2 separate regions of the Homo sapiens genome follow, and region 2 is linked to region 1. Evidence: promoter capture Hi-C in 16 types of primary human blood cells and fetal thymus (Javierre and others, 2016). All regions are on one chromosome and are shown on one strand. The core of a region is centred on a gene start or on the middle of the fragment in contact, and the rest is flanking DNA. Distances in the headings are between cores, read along the strand shown. Region 1 holds the start of EML4 (EMAP like 4). Region 2 has its middle 26 kb from the start of SLC8A1.

Region 1 (7,601 bases), core at 4,755-7,254:
CGAATAACAAGGTCAGGCGATCACAACCATCCTGGCTAACACAGTGAAACCCCATCTCTACTAAAAATACAAAAAATTAGCCAGGTGTGGTGGTGAGTGCCTGTAGTCCCAGCTACTCGGGAGGCTTGAGGCAGGAGAATAGCTTGAACACGGGAGGCAGAGGCTGCAGTGAGCCAACATGGTGCCACTGCACTCCAGCCTGGGCAATAGAGCAAGACTCCGTCTCAAAAACAAACAAACAAACAAAAACACGGCCAGGCACGGTGGCTCACACCTGTAAGGGAGGCCAAGGTGGGTGGATCACACAAGGTCAGGAGTTCAAGACCAGCCTGGCCAAGATGGTGAAACCCCGTCTCTACTAAAAATACAAAAATTAGCCAGACATGCTGGCGGGCACCTGTAATCCCAGCTACTAGGGAGGCTGAGGCAGATAACTGCCTAAACCCGGGAGGCGGAGGCTGCAGTGAGCCGAGATCGCGCCATTGCACTCCAGCCTGGGCAACAGAGCAAGACTCTGTCTCAAAAAACAAACAAACAAAAAAAAACCACTTTCTAGACCTTTTTCACCTATAAAAGTATAATAATTTATCTCCCAAGGTTAGTATGCAAATTAAATGAGATAAAAGCTCTTTGTAAACTGTAAATAAGGAATGCTTTAAAATAATATTTAAAAATCATATACAGCATGCAAAATTAAGGTATTATAAAAGCCTAAGACAGCTAAAGGACAAGAGATCATATACCGACATACAAATATACTACAGGGTCAGGCACAGTGGCTCACACCTGTAATCCCAGAACTTTGGGAGGCCAAGGTGCGTGGCCATCACCCGAGGTCAGGGGTTTGAGACCAGCCTGGCCAACATAGTGAAAACCTGTCTCTACTAAAAATACAAAAATTAGCCAGGTGTGGTGGTACACAACTGTAATCCCAGCTACTCAGGAGGCTGAGGCAGGAGAATCGCTTGAACCCAGGAGGCAGAGGTTGCAGTGAGCTGAGATCGTGCCATTGTACTCCAGCCTGGGAGACAGAGCAAGACTCCGTCAGACACACACACACAAAGAAATATACTATAGATTTGGGAATCTTCCACACTGAGGTAATACTAGATGAAGTAGATTCTTTCCCTAAACTTTTTACAAGTATTAGAATCTATTTTAAAAATCAAAATATTTTTCTAAAATTTCTTATGAATATTGAAGTTTTACATGTTACAGAAATGGACTCCCACATACAAAATACAGTATTTTGCTACATGTTATTCCAACTTACACATAAGACAGAAAAAGACTCCCTAGAATTTAAACTGCTAAATTATTTCATTGTTTTAAAAAGCCAAGCTCTGCAGAGATAAATCTAGCAATCAACAAATGTTCTCTCAGAAGTTACTTGCTTGAAACATAGCACAGCATTCTAAATGGTGCTTCCTCCCTTCATCCCCATTTCTGGTACTTAGGCTTAATAATAAACATCTCTACATACAGTACATACTTTATTTATTTATTTATTTTTTAGAGGCAGAGGTTTGCTCTGTGGCCCAGTGGAGTGCAGTGGTACAATCATAGCTCACTGCAACCTTCAACTCCTGTGCTCAAGTGATCCTCCTGCCTCAGCCTCCCAAGTAGCTGGGGTTACAGGCACATGCCACTATGCCTATTTTTGTTTTTTTTGCAGAGACAGGGTCTTGCTATGTTGCCCAGGCTGGTCTCAAACTACTGGGCTCAATCGATCCTTCCACCTCAGCCTCCCAAAGTGCTGGGACTACAGGCGTGAGCCACTGCACCTAGTCATGGTACTTATTTAAAAACCAGGCAGTAAGCTCCTAAAGGGCAAAAAGCATGTCTTTTACTTGTCTTTCCCATAAGAACCACCAAGCATAGTGCTAGCCCATGTTCGATGTTAATCCATACATATGTTGAAAAACACTCTAGCTAACTCATGTTGAAGATGCTCTACTAACCATTTAAGAGTTACTACTCATGTCTGGTTACACAACTTGAGTCTATCTTGAACTCTTCAAGAGGCAACCAATAAAAAAAGTTTAAAAAAAAAACCTCTCCAAATATTACATGAAAAACATTTTCATGTAAATAAGGAATGCTTTAGATTAATATGTGAAAATCATATACAGCATTGTTCCTTTAAGAAAGCAAGACTATTATCTGTGATGAGAAATCACAGTTCTAACAATGTGATGTTAAAAAGACTAATTTCTGAATAGTCCATAAGTTGAAGCATACTGCTATACTTGTTCACATTTACAACCTGTACCCAGAATGTTGTTTCTTATAGATCCTAATCCAACAATTTCATTCACTATGATTTTTCTTAGGGGGAAGAAGATTTTAAGTTTTGTTGTTTAACTTTTGAGGCAGAAAAATTTAAAGCTGACTGGTTAGGTATAAGGTTTCTTTCAAGTGAAAACAGACTAATCTCTAGGTTAATTCCAAGATAAAAGTCTTAAAATTAAACCTCTATTATGAAAGAGATTCTAAAAAGATTAAGCATGAAATGCACCCAATCCCTGCCTTATAAAAAATCGGTAAAAGCTGTATGAATAGCTTCCCACTTTTGCACATAGACCTGAGATTTAATATACATACAGTATATACATTTTGCACATGGGTATCTATATGTAGTGATTTAGAGGCAACACATCAAGGTAATTGAGTACTTTTCTCTCCTAAGTTTAAAAAAAAAAAGGTTTCTAAAGTGCTGCCTTAAGTTACCATAATTTGTGGATTAAAAGATATATTAATAATACCTAAGGGAAATTCCAGAGTACAAGCACCTGCCAGCCAAGTTGCCTGAAATTCATCAGCTGCGGAGATTAAAAGAATTCTTCACTTGTTTTTTATGTAAAACAAAGATAACATAATCAGTACCATGTAACTTCAATGTGGCATTTATAAAATGGCCAATCACTTATCATTCCTATGATTTAAAAAACCACTACCTAGTCTTAATTGCCATTAGACATCTTATAAAATGCACATAACACAGTGGATTTCTTATCTAAACATGCAACAATCAAGGGTACAGTTTGAATTTTAAGTTTTCACTTCACAAAATGAGTCACCATAGGATTCTCTGAAATAATCTCTTCTCTAAAATTATTCTGTTTATAAAGTACTCAATTTTTCTGCTTATAAAAATGTAGTTTTTTCACCATTTTTCAAGAATCTATCTAATATGTAAAAGGAAATACACACATACTTCCTTGAGAATAAATGCTTTCAATAGTTGTAACCCCAGAAGAACTTCACGTTTTGACTTCTTGTTTAAAAAAAAAAAAAGTTTTTAAACACCTACTAGAGTAGAAGTGCTTGCCTTTATATTCATGGCTCTCCTGATGGTAAAATAAAGATCAATGTAACTCTAAGCTCTAGGCTAATTAACTGCAGAGAACAGAAACAAGCAATTTGGCAAGAGCTGAGCAAAGCTCCGCTTAAAGACTACCAGTAAAATATACCAGCACTACTCCTCCCCCACCCCTTTAAGGTTTCAATTAAGATGGGGCCTAGTTTTACTCTTGCAAGGGGGACAGAAAGAGAAAGCACAGAGCTCCCACTGAGAAGTATCTTCATCAAGAACAGCTCCAGAAATACTGCCAGGAACCATTTCCTTCCCTCTCTGCAGATGCAGGTTCCTCTGATAGGCATATCTCCTCTGCTCCTGATTAACACCATATCTAAAGGAAAGTCTCATCACATACCACCCAAAGCATGGCATCAAATGAATTTTTTAAATCCAACATTAGGGTCAACAATGACGCTCTTTATGAAAAGTGTGAGCCCCAACTGCAATTCATCTTCATCTCTCGGTCTTTTGTATCACTTGCCTCATAAACTGGTTAAGAAAGAAGAAAGCTATTACAAAGCATAATCAATGTTTGAAAATAAACATTAAGTGCCCCAACTGGTGAGAAAGACTCCTCCTAAACACTTACAGAAGATGAAGCTTTAACAAGCCCTCCAGAAATCTTTAGAGCCAACACGAAAGAAGTTAAAGTGATCTCACCACTCCTACAGGATGAGGACCCAATACAGTATAAAGATAGCACAGCTCTCCACAACATCCCCTAAGAAGACACTCAATTTTTACTTTAGTATAAGATCAGCCCTTCAGCGGACATATAGGACAAGTTTTTCGGTCCAACACTTACTGTGAATAAACCAACGCATGGAGCTAAAAAAGAACCAGGGAAAAATGGATGTCTCTCTAAAAAGAGCCCAACCTAAGTAAGGAATTACAAGACATCAAAGGTTAGATAATGGACAACAGGTGCCTTTGAGGAGGAAAGAGTAACACAACACTCAGTTGCCTCCTATTTTAGGATTTCCACTCTGAAAGCAATATAACGACAATTTTTTCTGCCCAAGAAAAAGGGAAGGCCAAAATTATAGGTTTTACTATTTAATATCTATAATAGGCCCATTGCTCTTTGACTTACTTTTTTACTTTAGATTTTAAAAATCCATCTCATCTCGATATTATCTGGATATAGTACGGCCTATGGCCAGACTGCTCACTGATCAGTGAACATTAACCAAGTAGAGACTTATTATCAAGAAATGTAAAAGAAAGGCGTCTGAATACAAGCTACCTGCACATAAAAAACTCAAAATACAGTTCCAGCAGTAGGTATCACACAACTGCGTTATCAGCCAAAGCTGAAACTGTTTCTCTCACCATTCTAACAGTTGAACTTAATCTTTTACTAGATTTCAATGGCCTCGAAGAATAGTAATTCCAGATTCAGCTTCTAGGGCAGCGAATACTAGCCTGGAGTTTTGATTTTCCTAGCCAGAAGATTACCTTCATCTGGTGAAAGGAACACTGAAAAGGCACTTCAGCCTATTTAATAACCTCTTCCCTTTCTCCATTCCACAAAGACAACATCTTCCAAAAATGGAGAATCCTTTCCTTCCCTGATAGAGGCCCCCTTTCCTATTGATTCATTGGGCAGAATCACTTCTCCCCAGCATGTATGCAGAACCAGAAAACACTTCTGCTTTCACTCTTAAAGAGGGTCCCCCAACACAGATGCACCTCTTCCTTTCCTGCATTAAGCAAATGATGCTCCGATGCTTCTAGGTCTCTCCACCACTGCAAAATGCTCAGAGAAGTGGAGGGATTGAAAAGGAAGTTGCCTACTACTCTGAAGGATACTGGAAAGTCGCCTTCAAATCTAAAGTGAAGACTTGGGGGCGGGGGATGCCCCCTTCCTGAAGAGGGAATGAGGGTCCCTCCCCTAAAAAGGAGCCTCTGTTCGGGTGAAGGCGATCCCCACCCTGAAAGAGAGGCGTGTATGTGGAAAGGTGGTGGAAGGTTGTACCCTGAAGAGGAGCCTGGATTTGAAGAAATGTCCCAACTCTGAAGGGGGGTAAGTGGAGGGAGCCGTGAGTGTACGGGGAGGGGTGTGCCAGCTATCGGGGGGCCTGAGAAGGAAGGGGTTCCCACTTTGGGGGAACGAGGGCCCCGCACTGAAAGGGGCTCCGGGAGGAAAGGAGGGTCTGACACAGAGGAGAGTTGGACATGGGGGAGGGGCCCTCAGTCCACCGGAGTCCGCGGAGGGGCGGCAGCCTCGAAGGGAACATGTGCAGTGGAGCCGCTGCCACCCCGAGGGGCAGGCGGGAGGGCAGGGCCTGGGCTGTGTGCGGAAGGAAAAAAGTTCCTACCCTTCGCAGAAGACGCAGGACTCCCCAGCCGTACTCACCGAGACTGCCGGCGAAACCGTCCATCTTGCGGGGAAAGCGCCGGGCTCCGGGCTTAGAGGGGCGGGCACTTCATTCAGCGGACCGACAGAGTGGCCGACGCTGAGCCTGACCCGCTCGTTCTCTAGGTCGCCCGGCTCGGCTACCGGCTCCCGCCTCCGTCGTCCGTCCGTTCGCCCTGGGGTAGTAAGCCGCGGCCGCCCGAACCACTTCCCCGTCACGTTGAGAGCCGCGCCGCTCAGCCGCCTGCCCGGCCTCCCTCCCAGGCAGCAGCCGCGAGCGCCGCGCCGCGCCGCGCCCCGCCCCGCCCCCGCGCCCGCGCGCAGCAGTAGCCCCGCCCCGCGCACGCCGTCACACTTCCGACTCCGCCTCCCACGTGACGCCACGGAGGCGGGGTCTTGCCAGCCCCGCCCTCTCACCTTGCCTCGGCCTCGGCGTTTGTCCGCCTCGCGCCAGGCTGGTGGTTGCGCCTGCGCGGTAGGCCTGCTGAAGGCTGGGGACCACGGTTTGGAAGCTGGTTCCAAACAGGTGGGGATAAGGCATAGACTCTGGCCTGCGATACTCTGATGCATGAAGGATCCTCTCCCTATGTGGCCCCTGGGAAGCCCGCAGAGCCAAGACTGGACCCCCGTGACGGGAGATGACCACCACGTGGGTCCTACAAGGACACTAAAGAAGCAACCAAGAGGGAGAGGTTCTCCCTCTCCCCCAATAGGGTGGGGGACAAATAGGGGCGAAGCTTCTTGACTAGCTCGATACCACCACTGCCACAGCCGCAGGGCCCGGGACAGATCAGAAGCAAGGAATTTTAGTGCTGGACATGACCCAAAAGTTCATCTTGTCTAACCCTTCTTATGAAGAAAAACACAGAGCCTTAGAGAGGACAACCTGCCCAAGGTCATCGAACCTAGTAGAAGCAAAAACTCAGCCTTCCTTACTCTCCCTAGCGTTCTGTCGTCTAGGGGTGCAAAACGACCATATATGGCAGGCTATAGGATGGCCTGCTAGGGAACCATAATAAGGGTTATTTCAAATGAAGTAACACTGAGTTCTAGGCCCAACTCCGTATGACTCAAGAGTGTCAAATCACCTAATTTATTTAGGCGTCACTTTATTCATTTGCAAATTGGTTGTCTGGACATGTAACCAAAACATGTAAATATACATAGCGTTCATATTCTTCCTCCCTTCCCCAACACGATTTCCCATACTTCTAAAGACTTTCTCATGGTTTGTCAAGTCCCTCCTGGGGCTCAGTTGTGCAGATTAGAGTAAGAGAGAGAAGAGCTGTAAGGTACTGAAGAACTGAATTGATCTATACATAATAAATTGATAAATACATAATAAAAAGCTGAGTTAGGGGAAAACAGAGTCCTACTACACAGAGTTGCAGGAGAGAGGGACAAACAAGAAGGGAGACAAGAAATATGTAATGATGAGAGAGACTTAGAGGAATTAAATGATTGAAAGGATTGTTAAACCTTCTTGGGGTATACGTCTCCCTTTGTTGCCTCTTTAAAAATCTTCCCTAAAAATGTAAATTACTTTGCATTTCTTATTTGGATATAAGACCTGTTTCTGAATACCATACTATATGGAGACTGGCCATAACGCAGCCAAGATAAATTCAGGTTACAGACTAAACGGTGTCTAAAATTTCCTTCTCTTCAAACTTAAATGATTTACCCAATGTTCCTTCTGCTATGGGCATTTTCATATGCATAAGTTTCTATTAAGCCTAAGTAAATGTTTGAGAAGTTCTCAATTCTGACAGCTGTTCCTTTGTGTCTTCAGGCCACACTCTCTGCCTTAGGTCGATTAAAAGAATAAGAACTTGGCATATTGGTATACATATGTTTTATGGTCCAGACCTGGAAGTGTGT
Region 2 (7,209 bases), core at 596-3,095, 1.7 Mb after region 1:
AGTAAGATATGCCACAGAACTAATTAATCACCTTTTTTATATCCATTCCTCCCTATGGTAAACTATGTTCTTTAAAATACTATGGTGTATGAGCAAGTGTGCACATGGATGCACAAACATACACACACACACTCTTACACATAAACACACACAAGAAAATATGCTTTCTTTTGTAAAATGACTTTGCGACTGATGCCCTGTTTTTCCATACAGTTACATCTAAGGTCAAATAATATACTCCTCTCTTCTTCTCCCACATTAAAGGATATCATTATAATTAAAAGGTTGTGGTTATGATCTTTTATATTCTTAAGTATTTGTGTTTAAACAGCAGTGCGATTTTTGGCTACTACGAATCTCTTCAAAAAATAAGTTGGGTTGTGTTTGTAAGTCAGTGGCTGCTGGTCTCAACTGATGCAGTGACTCAGAATTAGCCTGTATAACGTCGTGGTCTTCATCTTGTAGCAGATTAGTGAGCTCATTCATTCTCGACAATATGTGGACTGGGAGGAGACTCATGAAATTTCTAGAGCACTTGACATGCCCAGCACAACTTGTTAAATTATGTCCTTGAGTCCTTTCCACTCCAACAAGAAATTTTGGTCAGGATTCAGCTGATACACTCAACCTCCTTAATCTAAGCAAAGTTAGGGCAGTGTCTTAGTCCATTTAAGATGTTATAACAAAAATCCCATAAACTGGCTGCCTTATCAACAATCAAAACTTATTCCTCACAGTTCTAAAGGCTGGAAATCCAATATCAAAATGCCAGCAAACTCCGTATCTGATGAGAACCTGCTTTCTGGTTTGTAGAGGGTGCCTTCTTTCTGTGTCCACACATGATGCAAGGGGTGAGAGTCTCTCTGGGACTTTTTTTCATAAGGACACTAATCCCTTTAATGAAGACAGAGCCCTCATGATCTCCCAAAGTCACACCTCCTCATACATCACCATGGGGGTTAAGATTTCAACATATGAATTTTAGAGGGAACAAATATTCAGACCATAGTAGACAGCTTAATCTTTGATGCAATAAGTAGTTCACATTTGGGGAAGAGAGCAACTTTTGCCTTCCTCTTTCAATGTTTCATGAGGTTTTGGGGTTTAGTTCTGAAGATTAAATGTTTCTGGCCTCTCTACTGGCACCAGAAAAAATCAGTATCTAATTTTTAAAAAAAAACAATAAACGTGCACTGTTTCCAGTTTTACAGTTTTTTCTTGACCTGTGTTAGTCCCATCCTGCAGTAAAATCAAGTCACTGTGGAAACCTTATCATAGGTCCTCAGTTAGTTTTCATAACTATATCAACAGACTGTGGCGTCAGGAAGAAATTACCCTGGTACATTAATTACTGGCCCATGGAATGGGAGCTGAGGGTAGGCAACTGCACAGCTAGTAAGTGGATCACTATGAAGGGACAAACAATGCAAGGGATACTAACTGGGCTTATATTTTTCTCCCAATATTAATGGTTTTTTAATTGTTTTTCACAAATCCAGGAATGTTAAGATGCCAAAGTACCTTGTTGCCGAAGCTGAGATGGAAACACTCATTGTCAATACTTTGGTACTTACCTTCCCCAGTTAGAGATAAAACCGGTATTTTAACAGATAGGAGCATGAAAAGCTCACTTACCACCCCTGAAATATTTTCTCTTTCTAATCAAGATAAGAAACTTCTGTGTTTCCTCATCTATAGAATATATAAATACCTACTACTATTATGTCCAAATGAGAATATCTTGAGAGAGAAAGTAATATCCAACCAGATGACCAAGATATAAATTGTTATGAGCTTAAAAAAATGTTTATTTTTTGCCCAAACCAGAGAAAATGCATGATCAGAAAATGAACTGCAAATGAAGAATGTGGGTTCAAGCTCTAGTAGAACAATTAATTAACTGTGACTATGCTAAAATATAAAATAATTAGACAAAGACAGTAATTTTAAATTTAGAAGTTGAAGTTACATACAAAAGATACAAATTTTGACAGCTCTTAAATATTTATTTGAAAAAGATACTAATTTAAAATTGAATTTCCACCAAAAAGCTCCAACATTCAGTCAAAAATATGTTAACTGTTTATTCGACAACAGTCACATGTCTAAATCTTTGTACATTCTGAATTAATGGTGTGAATTGGTGAAATTTATACGTTCTCCTGAAGTTTAAAATTAGGTGGTTGAGGCCGGGCGTGGTGGCTCACGCCTGTAATCCCAGCACTTTGGGAGGTCGAGGCAGGCGGATCACCTGCGATCAGGAGTTTGAGACTATCCTGGCCAACATGGTGAAACCCCGTCTCTACTAAAAATACAAAAATTAGCTGGGCGTGGTGGCGGGCGCCTATAATCCTAGCTACTTGGGAGGCTGAGGCATGAGAATTGCTTGAACCCAGGAGGCGGAGGTTGCAGTGAGCTGGGACTGCGCCATTGCACTCCAGCCTGGGCAACAAGAGCGAAACTCTGTCTAAAAAAAAAAAAAAACAAACAAATTAGGTGGTTGAAAATGAAATGTAACATCCAGGGAAATTGATATAAATTTCCTTCAGAAAGTCTATCAAAGTATAAAAGTCAAATTAAAAACTTAGGTCTATGAGAGATTTTGGAACTCATCAGATATTGATTTTTCAGAAGGGAGAGAGAAATACACTCATATTTATAGAATATTTTACTGAAAAAAACTCAGTGAAAAAACTACCTGAGCTTTTTACCAAAGAAAATCATAGACTTTTAAATGGACAGCACATTTGACTAGCTAACTCATGTTGCTTTAAATAGTTATTTTTTAAATATTTGGGTTTGTAGATACAAAAATGATTGCATATTGCAATTTGTTAGGACCTTTAGATCTGTAAAGGTCATATTGAGTTTAACCTGCAAACAGGACACAAAAGACACATGGTTCAGCCCAATACTCTGCTAATTAAGGCTCAAATAACAGTTGTCTCACCATGACAGGTAGAACTGCCTTAAACAAGTAACTTGTTTGGTTTTTCAGAAAAATGGTAATGGACTCTGATTGTGTGTGAGGGCGGGTGGGTGTATCAGCTTGTGTGGAGATATCAATCAGGAAAACTGGGTGAACAAGGGTTTTATCATCCCCAGCCAAGGCATAGCTGAGTATTTTCAGAAAACAGAATAGAGATATTAGAGAACAGGAAGAAAAAGAAAAAAAGAAAGTAAAACAGCTCTTCAGAAACTGTATTACTGACTTTCACAGTTTGATGTCAAAACCTATAGCCAAAGGAGGCAGACTAGAATAATAAAAGTGCCATTTATTTATACAGTACCTTTTTCTGAGAAGTTCTTGATACATTATGGTCATCTGGTTATTCCCTGAGCTTCAGTCCAAATAGCTCCTAAAAAGTACCAAGTCACAACTATTCTGGAAAGTAAGCCACATCAAGCTATGCTAACTAAGAGGTGGCTGGAAACTTGGTTATTCAATGTCTTTGCATTCATTCCCCATGTTGGTCAAATCTCCCCCTACACACACGTGCACACACACATACACACTACGCACAGGCACACACACTCATATAACTCACACAAAAACACACTCATCTTTATTTAAATTCAGTAGTTCAACTTAAAGGAAAATTACTCATGTGGCTTACGTGTACAAAGTGGAGAAAAATGCTGTGAAGTTCATCTTCAGCCAGAGGAAGGAAAACTTTCTAAGCCAAACCTCTGATTGTCTTCCTTCCGCAAAACATCAAGAGTCTTTGGCATTTGGGTGGTGCTTGAAAAGTTGAGGGTTCGTATCTAAGACATTGTTTAAGTGACAATAAATTATCTTCTTTTCAACCGTGTAGGACAAAGAAATAGGGAGGGGGCTGGGAGAAGGAGTAGGTGGATCATTTTACAGACAAATAACCAGAAGCACATAGGATTGAACTGATTTACTCACATGTGTTCAGAAGGTTCTAGAAATAGGGAGCTGCAACACTTCAGCTCTCAATCCATGACTACAACACAAGGTTTTCTCTCTTGTAAGAGAAACAGTGTTTTCTTCAGATATCAGATACCATGGTAGTTCAGACTACTAAAAATAAACTGAAAAAGATCACGTTGCCCAGGAAATTTATTATTTAATGGACTTTCTGTTTCTGTTTTCAGAAAATAGTATTAAATGTTTTTAAACATTTAACTTGACAAATAATGCATGACATTGTCGTGGACAGTATTATGTTTGCTATAGGAAAAATGCACCCACAAAACAATAATTCCTGTATTTTCCAGAACATCCTCCCAAAAAAAATTAGAGAAAATCCAATAACTCTTATTCATTGATTTACTGATTCACTCACTGCTTCAAAAATATGCAGTAGGCATTAAATTTGATGCCATAAATAAAGGAAAGAACAAGACTCACTATTGAAAGTTGATTGTATCAGAAAAATCTGAAAGGATGATCACTCCTCCTAGATACTCTGCCAATGGCTTTTTGCACTCTCATAAAATTGGAATGACTTCCTATGGTGTTCAAGGCCCTATATGATCTATCCCTGAGCTATGCCACCCTCCTTTACTTCTAAATCTCTACCATGTATTTGGCACTAACCACACTTGCTCCCACTATTTCCTCTAAAGCAAATAGGTCAAGTTTCTTCTGACCTCAGGAAATTACTATTTTCCATGACCTCTGCCCAGACTAATCTTGTCCCATAATGGACTCTCCCTTACTTTATTAAGGTCTCTGGTCAAATGTGATCTGCTCAATGACGCCTTCACTAAGCACCTTACCTAAACATCCTCTCAGTCATTCTATTTCCCCAAAGCTTGCTTTTCTTTTTTATATGCTTTATTAGTATCTAACATTAGAAATATATCTTTGTTTATTTTCAGTCTTTCCCAGCTGAAGGCTAAGACTTTATTTCTCTCTCCCTAAATGAATGAATTGCCTCCAGCAGGTATCAAGAATGCCTGATATCCAGCAGGTATGAAGAAGGGATAAAGGTCCGAGGCATCCCTGGGAAACTGAAACAGCATTGCTTTAGTCCTTGGGTCCAGAGTTTCTATAGGCTCCCCTTTGAGAAAGACAAGTGAAAATTGGTTGTTGCAAATTAGATAATATGAGGAATATATGAATAGAAAAGAGTCACAGTTCTGTAATAGACTTTTACACTTGCATAGAAAAATCAAGAAGTTCCACAACTAACCTCAAAATGCTTTAATCGAATTGAAAAATGATGCTATTTGTCATCATTTATTTATTTTCATGCTTTGTGCCAAAACAATACCTCTCAAAGAAAAAAATGAGTTTGGGAATTTGTTAAGGTTATTATCTTTTGAACAGAAAACTACTCAGAGGAGACAAATTCTCCCAAAATCCTTTTCTATGATGTGATGCATCATAGAAAGTTATGTTTTTTGGGGGAAAATAGTACTGAAAATAGGAGAATCTAGGGCTTAGGTAATGATCTAAGAGAATGCCCTAGGGTTTATTTCATTTTTTTTCCTAGCCAGTCATTCTAAGATGGAAGTTCTCAAAAGTGTGATTTTGAGATCCTTCAGCAACTAAAGAGCTTTATTTTGGCAAATGTAGTTATTTTTGTAAAAAATATGTATTTATGTATTTATATATTTACATAAACATGTACATGTATGCATGTGTACATGTATGTGTACATGTATGTATATGTACATGTACATATGTCATGTACATATGTATTTATGTTAATGCATAATGGGTATATTATTATTTAAAAATGAATTAAAAACTAAATATTTAATAAATCCTCAGTTTTAACTTCAAATACAATAAATACCTACAGATATTATCTATATAAGCAAAAGTTTTTTGGGTCCTCAATAATTTTTATAGGCCGGGCACGGTGGCTCATGCCTGTAATCCCAGCACTTTAGGAGGCAGAGGCGGGTGGATCACGAGGTCAGGAGATCGAGACCATCCTGGCTAACACGGTGAAACCCCATTTCTACTAAAAATGCAAAAAATTAGCCGGGCGAGGTGGCGGGCACCTGTAGTCCCAGCTACGTGGGAGGCTGAGGCAGGAGAATGGCGTGAACCCGGGAGACGGAGCTTGCAGTGAGCAGAGATCACGCTACTGCACTCCAGCCTGGGCGACAGAGCGAGACTCCGTCTCAAAAAATAAATAAATAAATAAATAAATAATTTTTATAGCAGAAAGAAGTTCACAAGTTTTGAGAACTGCTGCTCCAAGACATTGAGATTACAACAAATCGATTCCTAAATAATTTTTTTATAAGTTAAACTTAAAACAATGAAGACATATTAGTAACCTCGATCACTTTAGTTATATATCTTTACCAGGACTCCAAACAAATAATGATTTATTTTTACATTTGTTATGTCTTATTCTTTCAGCAAAAGTTTTTAATGTAGACTTAGATGATTACTCCAAACTATTTGCATATACAGTTAAATAAAGCCTTACAAACATGAATTTATGGAAACCAATGAAAAGTTTCATGATCTAACATTATAGCCATGAGCACAAGCTCCCAAACCAAACTGCCTGGATTTACTCAATATTTCTGTACTTCAGTTTCTTTAAGTATAAAATATGAATAATATTAGAACCTAAATCAAAGGGCTTGTAAGATTAAGTAACTTCATACTTAAGAAGTATTCAGAACAGTACTAGGAACATTAATATTTGTTAGTAACTGTCATAGCCAATTTAGTATTGTTAGCTACTGTTACCACCATTTCTGAGAATAGTACCAAAATACTAGCAGGAACTCTGGAAGAAAACGGGGAAGCTGACATTAAAAGGGGAAGCTGACATTAAAACCTTAGGAAGTAGTGAGGTGTCAAAAAAATTAGAAATTGAATGGTAAAGTTAATCTGGCCATTTAAGGTTTCTTTTCTGAGAAACCATTTATGTTTTTGTCCAAGAGTAAACTTCTTTTTCTGGTACTTTAACCAGTAATCATGTGATAAGGCTACATTATGCAGATTAAATACATGTCCCAAAGAATACAACAAAGACTGAACTTATGAAAATTAGTATTCACAGGGAAGACAATCTGTTAATTCCTAAGTATATAATCTCCTGATGTTTCCCAAGCCAGGATGCCATATATTTAAAATCATATTCCTAGAGAACAATTGTTCTGACACAGTGTCATGAGAGTCAATGAAAGCCAGTCTTGTAAGGAGATAGTCTATTGAGAGAGGCAGTTCTCAACATTTGCACTACAGAAAGGACAGCAGAAGGAATA

Evidence for each region. Contacts are between HindIII fragments. The CHiCAGO score rates a contact against its expected background, and 5 or more counts as called.
Region 2: a fragment that was not itself captured here is called in contact with the fragment with the promoter of EML4 in region 1 in 1 of 17 cell types (M1 macrophages); the score reaches 5.2 in M1 macrophages.

Annotation. Positions count from the first base shown.
Region 1 is chr2:42,167,756-42,175,356 of GRCh38, reverse strand. It overlaps EML4 (EMAP like 4), which reads right to left and starts at 6,004. Exons shown (of 23, transcript NM_019063.5): 1 at 5,721-6,004. The coding sequence starts at 5,745. EML4-AS1 (EML4 antisense RNA 1) reads left to right here and starts at 5,126. Exons shown (of 4, transcript NR_110584.1): 1 at 5,126-5,387. RefSeq lists silencers at 5,993-6,052, 6,153-6,202 and enhancers at 5,618-6,270, 6,283-6,422. The HindIII fragment of the contact is 2,496 bases long and covers 3,964-6,459 here.
Region 2 is chr2:40,474,050-40,481,258 of GRCh38, reverse strand. It overlaps a transcript of SLC8A1 not described here. Among named protein-coding and RNA genes, the nearest start is that of SLC8A1, 26 kb to the right of the region's middle. The HindIII fragment of the contact is 5,876 bases long and covers 1-4,783 here.